2 separate regions of the Homo sapiens genome follow, and region 2 is linked to region 1. The links are contacts of gene promoters, found by promoter capture Hi-C in blood cells and fetal thymus (Javierre and others, 2016). All regions are on one chromosome and are shown on one strand. Each heading gives the region's core, a stretch centred on a gene start or on the middle of the fragment in contact. The rest is flanking DNA. Distances are from core to core; before and after follow the strand shown. Region 1 holds the start of SURF4 (surfeit 4). Region 2 holds the start of BRD3 (bromodomain containing 3).

Evidence for each region. Contacts are between HindIII fragments. The CHiCAGO score rates a contact against its expected background, and 5 or more counts as called.
Region 2: a fragment that was not itself captured here is called in contact with the fragment with the promoter of SURF4 in region 1 in 1 of 17 cell types (fetal thymus); the score reaches 7.9 in fetal thymus.

Annotation. Positions count from the first base shown.
Region 1 is chr9:133,374,810-133,379,773 of GRCh38, reverse strand. SURF4 (surfeit 4) reads left to right here and starts at 3,714. Exons shown (of 6, transcript NM_033161.4): 1 at 3,714-3,852. The coding sequence starts at 3,805. STKLD1 (serine/threonine kinase like domain containing 1) reads right to left here and starts at 3,408. Exons shown (of 18, transcript NM_153710.5): 1 at 3,214-3,408; 2 at 652-738. The coding sequence starts at 3,300. RefSeq lists silencers at 3,170-3,669, 3,760-3,999, 4,010-4,289. The HindIII fragment of the contact is 2,219 bases long and covers 2,454-4,672 here.
Region 2 is chr9:134,064,213-134,069,176 of GRCh38, reverse strand. BRD3 (bromodomain containing 3) reads left to right here and starts at 1,151. Exons shown (of 12, transcript NM_007371.4): 1 at 1,151-1,232. RefSeq lists silencers at 546-1,275, 1,456-1,705. The HindIII fragment of the contact is 721 bases long and covers 2,348-3,068 here.

The sequences.
Region 1 (4,964 bases), core at 2,465-4,964:
GCAGCAGCTTTCTCACCCTAGTCCCTCTGTTGATCTGGACCTCCCTGTCTCGGACACACAAAGGGCTGTCTTCCTGCAGGCCTACACCTCCCCATGCCCTGCTAGCCCTGGTGAGGAGTGTGGTGGAAGGGCTCAGGGCCTGGTGTGTGACCTTAGCCCTGTGTGACCTTGAGCCAGTCCCCATCCTCTCTGGGCCTGGCTCCCTTTTGGTAAAACTGGTGACCCAGCACTGGGTAGCACGGTGTCCCCCAGTGAGGTGGCCTGAATTCAAATCCTCTTGGAAATTGTGTGACCTTGCCTAGTCTGGCGCTGCATTGAGCCTCACTGTCTTTGGCTATAAACAGGGTCATTGTTTCTGCTTTACAGGGTTGACGGGAGATGAAGTGAGTCAGTGCCTGGCATACAGCACGTGATGCGTAAATGGTGGGAGGTGGTGGTGTTGGAGTAAAAATTAGCATTGCTTCCCCATCAAGGTGACAGAGCTTCACGCACCCCCACATCTACCCCAACCAGATTAGTCTCCGCAAGTGTCAGCAGCGAGGAATCCAGCTGCCGCATCAGGAAGCTTCTCCAACATGGGAAGAGCTTGTATTGGGGAAAATCACAGTCACAGAACCACCCGGCATGGGATGCACAGGCTTGGCCTCTTACCTGCTTTATCACATGCTTGACTTTGGTTTCCATTTCCTCCACCACCAGGTTCACCCCCAAGGCCCCAGGATTCAGCTGGTACAAAACCTATCAGCAAGGAAGAGAGAAGCTTTCAGGAAATGCACACAACTTTTCCCTTTCCAAAAGCCCAGCTCCAACTCCTTTTCTGGCCCTGCTAACTCCCCTGTCAGGCTGGCAGAGCAAGTGGCTCCACCCCATCTTGCAATAGAGGAAATGGCCCAAGGAGGGCAAGAAGCCTTTCAATGGCAGAACTCTGATCTCACCTATTTGGGGCCGATTCTGGAGCTCTTCTACAACCCTGTATCCCTCCCCCAACCTGCAATGAGGACCAGCTGGGCACTCAAGTGCAAGAACCTCCCAGAGAAAAAGGGCTTATTCACTCTCTATAGACCTCTGTGACCTCAACTTCCAGCATCCACCTCCCAACTGGTTTCCAACAAGAAAGTAACCAATCTTGTGACTGGTACAATCAGGAAGCCATTGTGTGCCTGGCATGGTGCCAAGCACTTCACAGCCACCCTTTGCAGTTGACACCATTGCTACCTCTGTGTTTACATTGGGGAAAACTGAGGCACAAGGAGCTAGGTCCTTGCCTGAGGCTATGTCACTAGAAAGCAGGACACTGCCTGGGGTAACTCTGGGGGTCTGATCTTAGAGCCTGTGATTTGAGCCAAATCTGGAGAGATGGCCACCAAGCCAGAACTCTGTGCAGAGACCAAGTGCTATGGGGCAGGGGGCTGGGCCGGGGATTGCTGGAGGCTGACATTCATCAGAGGATTGGGGGAGGGAGGGCAGGACCCAGAGGAGGAGATATGAGGATGGAAGCCTGAGCCTAGGGACTCTCGGAGCCCATAAAAGTCTTAGGAGTCTGTAATCCAGCCTTGTGAGCAGCCTGCTCATGACACTGGATATTCTAAGCCAGGGGTCCCCAACCTAGTCCGTGGCCTGTTAGGAACCAGGCTGCACAGCAGGAGGTGAGCAGCAGGCAGTGGAGCAAAGCTTCATCTGTATTTACAGCCGCTCCCCATGGCTCGCATTACCACCCAAGCTCCACCTCCTGTCAGCTCAGCAGCAGCATTAGATTCTCATGGGAGTGTGAACCCTATTGTGAACAGTGCATGTGAGGGATCCAGGTTGCATGCTCCTTATGAGAAACAAATGCCTGATGATCCGTCACTGTCTCCCATCATCCCGAGAGGATGGTCTAGTTGCAAGAAAACAAGCTCAGGGCTCCCACTGATTCTACATTATGGTGAGTTGTGTAATTATTTCATTATGTATTACAACATAATAATAGAAATGAACTGCACACTAAGTGTAATGTGCTTGAATCATCCCAAAACCATCCTCCCGCCTCCATCTGTGGAAAAATTGTCTTCCACAAAACTGGTCCCTTGTGCCAAAAAGGTTGGGGACTGCTATTTTTTTTTTTCTTTCTGAGACAGAGTTTTGCTCTTGTTGCCCAGGCTGGAGTCCAATGGCGCTATCTTGGCTCACCACAACCTCTGCCTCCTGGGTTCAAGCGATTCTCCAGCCTCAGCCTCCCGAGTAGCTGTGATTACAGGCATGCGCCACCACACCTGGCTAATTTTGTATTTTTAGTAGAGACAGTTTCTCCATGTTGGTCAGGCTGGTCTTGAACTCCCGATCTCAGGTGATCCGCCCGCCTTGGCCTCCCAAAGTGTTGGGGATTACAGGCGTGAGCCACCGAGCCCGGCCAGGGACTGCTGTTCTAAGCCACAGCGGGCTGAGGGCAGAGCTGGTGTGAGAGCGTTCAAGCTTAGGCAGCAAATTAAACAGTAAAATGGAGCCGTATCTCGAATCAAGTCTATTTTTTTTTCCAAAAGCAGGTATATTCCTGAAACGTCTATTTTTTTTTAATCTGAAAAACAACTTTACTTTAAAAATTATCTGGCCACCAGAAGCTCATCTGCTTCACCTCTGGCAACGCCCTATAGTCCTCTCACACAAAGACAATTCTTCCAAAGTGACAAAAATCTAACCCGCAAACTGTTTCCAAGCGAATGCATTTTTCACAAATGCTGAATCTAACATTTAATAAAGTGTATATATCATGTATAGAAGCATTTAATTAAACATTTACTTTTATTTTGCAGCTTTCCTTTTGTGTTTTGTGAATTTTTTAGGTCTCAAACATTTTCACAGACCCACGCTGCAGGGGTGTTTTTAGGGGACTGGGGGCTCCCAATTATGTACTCGGGATGTTCCCGGGGGTCCTGCCTCGGTGGACCCAAGCGCACAGACCCCAGGCACGAAGGATAGAGGAGCTGCCCCACGCCCTCAAATACTCAGCCAGGGCTGGAGAATCCTTAGTCAATTCACAAAGGGGGAAACTGAGTGGCAAAGGGCACCCAGGAGGTCACCGTTGGAGGCCCCCCGGGTTCAACCTAGGAGCTGCAGGCCGACACTGGCCAGGGCGCGGGCCCCTCGCCGCCCTCGGTCGGAACCGCCGGCCGTAGCTCCAGGGTTGCGACCGTTACCCCACGGAGCTCCCGCCTCCCCGCAGGGAACACTCGGCACCTGGTACTTCTCCATGGGCTCTCCGGGGGACCCTGGGCCTCGCTCCCCCTGCGTGGGGCGCCTGCGATTGGACCCTGGCCCAAGCATGATCAGTAGCGACCGCGTACGGGCGAGCGTCCACCCCTGGCCCCACCCCGCGTGGGTCAGTGGGACCCGCGGGATCCTCCCCGCCCGAACGGCGCCCTCGAGGCACTCAGGCGTCCCTCCCGCGCGCTGGCCCCAGACCCCCAGGTCCCCGCCCCCTTAAAAGGGACGCGTTCCGCCGGGCCGGGAGGGACCGCAGGGCCTGCGCGCGGCGGGCGGGGCCTCCAGCGTGAGAGGCGTGGCGTCGAGCGCGGCGGGCGTGGCTTCGAGCGGATGGGTCGGGAGGCTGGGGATGGCGCGTGGCCCCTTTAAGACGCACCGGGGCGGGCCCGGGCGGCGCGCGGCCCCTTTAAGGCTTGGCCTACGTGGCAGCCGCTGGAGCCGCAGCCGACGCGGAGCGAGGCCGGCCGCCGGGCACTTCCTGTGGAGGCCGCAGCGGGTGCGGGCGCCGACGGGCGAGAGCCAGCGAGCGAGCGAGCGAGCCGAGCCGAGCCTCCCGCCGTCGCCATGGGCCAGAACGACCTGATGGGCACGGCCGAGGACTTCGCCGACCAGGTGCGGCCTGCGGGCTCCTCCCCCGGCCCCGGTCCCGACCCAGGCCGCCCGGGCCGCTCCGGAGTCGGCCTCCCAGCGCAGGGCGCCAGGCCCGGGCCGCCCCCTGACTCCTTGTTCCCACAGGGGGACCCCCCCGCCCGGGCCCTCTGTCCCGGCTGGACAGCCCCAAACCCGGCCTCCGGGCCCAGTCTCCCCTGCCCGCTGGGCCGCTCCCGGAGCCCGGGCCTCGGCGCCCTGCCTGGCTAGCCGCCCCCACCCTCCAGCCAGCCCGGGGCGCGGGCTGTGGGGGTTTCTTCCCGGGCCGGCGGCGCGAGTCCTGGCGTTGGGTCGGGTCTGAGGCTCGCGGGGAGCGCCTCGGCGTTTGGAGCTGCTGGGGGGTCCCCGCACGTTTTTCCTCTCACTGGGGCTCCCGGAGGCGGGCTGGGAGCTCGGGGACGAACGGGGGCCGGGGGTCCTCCCAGAGGAAAGGGGGCGCGCTGGCGTGCGCCCCAGCTACAGGAAGCCACAGCACCTTTTCCTTTTCTCTTTCCCAGATGTGCTGGACTCTTGGGGTCCCTTTGACCCTGTCTGCGTCTCCCTCCCCGTTTGGACTCTGCCCTGGGCTGGATTGAGTGGGGACCTGTACACAGCCTGGGAGGAGGGGAAGCCTATCTCCCTGATAGTCTCCTTCCAGAAGTGTCCAGGTGGCATTCTGAGCAACAGGGAAGCCTTTGAAACAGGCGGTTGGGTAACTGTTGAGAGCATTCGGGAACTGGGTGGACAGGATCCGATCCTACAAAGTGAAGGGACACAACTCCCTTCCCTCTTTCTTGATTAAGCTTGACAGAACAAAAAAACAAAAACAAAAGGTGGTGGTGGTTACGCAGATTTATGCCTTTTACTTCTAAAAGAATCCCGTTATGTCGACAAATTAACAGCCTTATCCCCGCAGGGAGAGCCTTGTGTGGCCCACTTGCCGTTTTTTCCTCGGTTTACTTAATGTGTTCGTGTGGCTTTGCTAGAGTTTTAAGTAGTGATGGTTAAATTTTTAAATTTTTCTGGAGGTGGTAGTGAGTCATCAAACTCTGAGGCCTAGACTTATCGGAAGGCTTGTATATGTGTGGTTTAAAAAA
Region 2 (4,964 bases), core at 1,459-3,958, 690 kb before region 1:
TAAAAAATACAAAAATTAGCCGGGCGTGGTGGCGGGTGCCTGTAATCTCAGCTACTCGGGAGGCTGAGCCAGGAGAATGGCTTGAACCCGGGAGGCGGACGTTGCAGTGAGCCGAGATCGAGCCACTCACTACACTACAGCACTCCAGCCTGGGTGACAAGAGCGAAACTAACGTCTCAAAAAAAAAAAAAAAAAACAAAAACCAAAAAAACAACAAAACCCCCCCCCCCACAACTTGATTTATGTGTAAACCCGAGTCGTCATCACCCAAAACAAGATGCAAAACGTGTCCACGGGCTGAACCTTTCAAGATACAGAAAAAGGGCCAGGGGTGGCCCTCTCCCGGAATCTCAGGCTGGGAACCTGGTATCTAGTTCCCGCCCCTCACTGGGCAGATGGGGAAACCGGGGCTTGGGGCGAGAAGGTCCCCAGGCAGAGCTGGGAGCACCCCTAACTCTTCGCCAGCTCTGGGGACTTGGCGCCCTCTCCAGCAACAGCGAACTTGGGCGCCCGCGCCCCAGCAAGTCGGGTGGGGGAGATGGTGACACGGAGGGCGCGGCAGAGCGCGGCTCCTCCCCGGGCGGGGCCGACCTGCCCGCGCGCACCGACGCCCCGCCCCCCGCCCCGCGCGCGCGCTCCCGCCAGGCTAATTAGGCGCGCGGTTTGTTTACAAACACGGGCTCCCGGCAGGTGCGCGCCGCCCCGCCCGTGCGCGGCCGGGGTTCGAGGGTGGCTCCCGCGGGCCTCGGGGTGCCCGGACGGGGGCTGCGGTGCTGGCTGCGTGCCCGCTTCTTCCATGCCGTCCTGGGGCACCGGAAAATCCGCCGCCAGGCGCTGTCCCCGACACGGGGTGAGGAGAGCCGTGCGGGCCCGGGCGGGGAACGGCCCACGGGGTCCCAGCGTTGTTGCCCTGCCGGGCGGGCGCCGAGCCCCGCCCCCGCGCGCCCCCCGGGCCAGGCCCGCTCTCGGCCGGGTCGGCGGGGCGGGCGGGGGCCCCCGGGGCGGGGCGCGGCGCCGGCGGGGCCGGGACATGTAGTCCGCGCGCCCGCGGCCTCCCCTGGGCGGCCCCGGCGCGGGCCCGGCCGCGGACTACGACTCCCGCCAGGCGCCGCGGCGCAGCGCATGAGCCCTGCTCGGCTCCGGCGCGTCTATTATGCTGCCGGGGCCGGCGAGCCAAAGAGGAGCCGGCCGCGCGGGCCGGGAGGGGACGGCCGCCGGAGCCGCGAGGCCAAGTACGCCTTTCTCTTGCTTCCTTGCGCGCGCGGGGCGGCGGGCGGCGCGGGCGGCGGCGGGCCGGGCTGGGCCGGGGAGCGCGGCCCCGAGCGCCCCGCGCAGTCCGCCGGCGCGTCCGGGTGAACCGGGCGCCCGGGGCCGCCGCCGCCGCCGCCGCCTTTGTGCGCGGCCACGATGCAACAAAGCGCGGCGGCCGCCCGGGGTCGCGGCGGCGGTGGCGGCGGCGGTGGCGCGGGCTCCGCTCCCCTCCTCCCGCTCCCGCTTGGCCGCCTCCGTCCCGGACTCGGGGCGTCGCTGCGGCCGGGGCGCGCAGCCCGGAGTTGGCGCGGCCCGCGCGCCCCGCGCCAGCCCGGCCTCCGCGCGCCCTCCCTCACGGAAGGGATTTTTTTCCCCCTTTCCTCCGCCCGCCATCTTTCGAAGGGGGAACCCAGGGAGGACGCGGAGGGGGAAGGTGCGCGCGGCGGCCCCGGCCTGCGGCCGTGCGCTCCGCGGGGCCACTTTCCCCGCGCCTGTTCCGCCGGCCTCGCTCCCGAGCCGTTGCTGGGGCCCGCGCCTGGGGACCGTCGCCGCGCGCCGCGGCCGGGGCGGGGGGCAAGGCCGGGCTCGGCCCTGGGCTCTGCGCGGCCTCCTCCCAGAGTTACGGGCCCAGAGCTGACTTTGAGCCCCCCTGAGTTGCCGGATTATTGCACCCAAACCAGGGGGAGACCCAGTTCCCGTTTTGAAATCAGCCTGAAAATCGCTTAATCCGGGCGAGGGCGAGTTGGAGCGGGAGGGACGGGGGTGCTTCCCCTCCTTCCCACTTTTGGGGGGCGCCGGAGTGACAACGTGATACAAGCCCATCCGGGGAGAAATGCGCACCCCGAACCGTGTACACCCACATGGCCCTGGTGGGCTCTCTGTGAATAAAGCTGGGGCGTGCGGGAAGTCTTATTCCACCGGTTGCTCGTTCGGGGGCAGGGCCGGGATGGGGGCTTCGCGCGGCCTCCTTTCCCTGGAGGGCGAGAACTCGGCCCGCCGAGACCCACCGGGGGCAGGGACCCGGCGTCCATCGTGTGGGTTCCTCCGTTCGACCCAATCCTTGAGTGGTTGCGATCTTTAATTTTGGTTGAAAGCTTTCTGCTCAGAAATAGATACTGGGATTTCTCCCCCTTACATTAAACTTGGTCATTGTCTGCAAAAGTTAACCAGGAGGGGAGACTGTAGTGCATTGGTGGGCAGAGTAATTGGGCTGGAACTGCAAGAGGCAGCTTCGTGTGTCCCGTCCTCCCCCGCCCTACCCTGTGAGAAGGAACAGAAGAGGAAAAGAGTTTTCTTTTTACCCTGCTCTTTTGTAGGCTTTTCCCCTTACTCTTTTCTTTAAAATGGAGGGTTTTTTTTTTTTCCTGGGTCCATGTAGTATGCCTGGGGAGATCCTGGAATCTATGCAAAGTTGTATGGCATTTTTCTGGGGAAAGTAGTTTGTTACTGGCTTCCAACGGGGTCTAAGGAAGGTCTGAACCCCTGCAAGGGGCTGGCCTCGGGGGTTAGGGAGCCCTCCCTCCGGGTTCTTCCCTGGCAGCCCTGATGCAGCCTCTCATTTGCAAATAAAGGTCTGTGTTTGCCGTTTTCTCTGTTGAGGCCTTGATGGGTGCTGGTGGTTACTGATCATGAAAGATAAGGCACACGCTGTAACAGGACGGGCTGCAGGCGAGCGAGGGGCATTTCTTTCTGACCTTCCGGGTAGCCTCAGAGGCCCGGTGCCTCAGCAGGGCACCGGGTGCCTGGAAAGACTGTGGGAGCAGCTCCAGCCTGAGCCCTGCCGTTGGGACATCCGGGGAGGAGGGATTTCAAAAGCTTTCTCCGAGTGGGCAGTCACTCCATTTTTATTTTTGTTTTGTTTTTAGAAAGTAGAGTAATTACTTTCCTTTGACAACAGCTCGCGCCTGCTTCGGAAGTGAGTGAGCTTTGAATGAAGGACGGGACTTGCAAACAGTGCCTGCCCTACACTCCGAAGTAGTCATACCCAGAAAGTGAAAGTGGGGGTGTGCAGAGCGAAGCAGCCAGGCCTGCTGCAGCCGGTGCTACCTTCCTCTACCCTCTTCCTCCAGGCTCTGGAGATGCCAGCCGCGGGAGCCCTGTGCACCAGGCGGCAGTGATGGCCTTGTGCGATTCCTGGTGCCACCAGGAAGTGCCACCACTTTCCCTGAGGCATGGTGGCTCAGGGTTTCCCAAGTGGGGTGATTGGCACAAAACCAACAGCTATGCCCAGTTGTCGATGGGAAGAGCCATGTTTTGCTGTGGATACACACGGTACCGGGGCGGGGTATGGGGAACCGGGGCCTACTCTTCCCAGCGTTGCTGCCTGGGAGGTGGGGGCATGCCTGAAGTCGTGCTGCGGGTCTCTTGGTTTTCAAAGCAGTTAACGCAGTTGGTCAGAGGATCCTCCTCTTGCTTCCTTGACCGGTCATCAAAGTATAACTGACCTGACGGGGTTCCTGTCCTAGGCAGGTTCCTTTTTTTTTTTTTTTCTCTTCTCCTCTTGAGATGGAGTCTCGCATTGTTGCCCAGGCTGGAGTGCAGTGGCACGATCTCAGCCCACTGTAACCTCTACCTCCCGGGTTCTAGCAATTCTCCTGCTTCAGCCTCCCAAGTAGCTGGGATTACAGGCGTCCGCCACCACGCCCAGCTAATTTTTTGTATTTTTAGTAGAGACAGGGTTTCACTGTGTTGGACAGGCTGGTCTCGAACTCCTCACCTCGTGATCCACCTGCCTTGGCCTCCCAAAGTGCTGGGATTACAGGCATGAGCCACCGTGCCTAGCCAGCAGGTCCCTTATATCACGAAGCCAGTATCTGGTTGAAGCTAGAAGGTAACTGGATGAATCATGGTAGAATGCAAGGCTTCTTGCCGTAAAAGGTTTTGGAACTTGCGGGTCTGCCTTGGGCCTTCCCGACCCCTGTGGCTCCGCCCCCTTGTTGGAGCAGAAGAGATGCACAGGTAGCAAAGCATGATGGGGTGCCAGGTGCATTTGGGTCAGCGTTTGCCAAGAATGGCCTTGCTCCTGTGTTTTTGTTGGTACTGCCACCTTGTAGAGGTGCCCAGCTGGTGGCGGAGCATAGGGTTTTCTTTGCCTATTCTCCTTCCTGTGAAATCATGGGCACAGACATCATGGGCCCCTGTGCCCGGGCCTCCCTGCTCTGGTTCCTGGGCTCCTGCCATCTGAGAGGCTTGAGGGCTTGCTTATTTGTTTGTTTGTTTGTATTTTTAGTAGAGATGGCGTTTCACCATGTTGGCCAGGCTGGTCTCAAACTCTTGGCCGTGAGTGACCCACCCGTCTCTGCCTCCTGAAGTGCTGGGATTACAAGCGTGAGCCACCATGCTCGGCCAAGATGCTTGAGAGCTCATTTATTTATTTACTTATTTTGAGACAGAGTATCACTCTGTTGCCCAGGCTGGTGTGTAATGGCATGATTTCCCTTCACTGCAACCTCCACCTCCTGGGTTCAAGCAATTCTCCCTGGCTCAGCCTGCCAAGTAGCTGGGATTACAGGTGCCCGCCACCACGCCTGGCTATTTTTTTTAATTTTTTTTAATTTTTTAGTAAAGATGGGGTTTCGCCATGTTGGCCGGGCTGGTCTTGAACTCCTGACCTCAGGTGATCCACCCATCTCAGCCTCCCAAAGTGCTGAGATTACAGGTGTGAGCCACCATGCCTGACCGAGAGCTCTTTTAAAGAGAAAGTGTCACTTTGG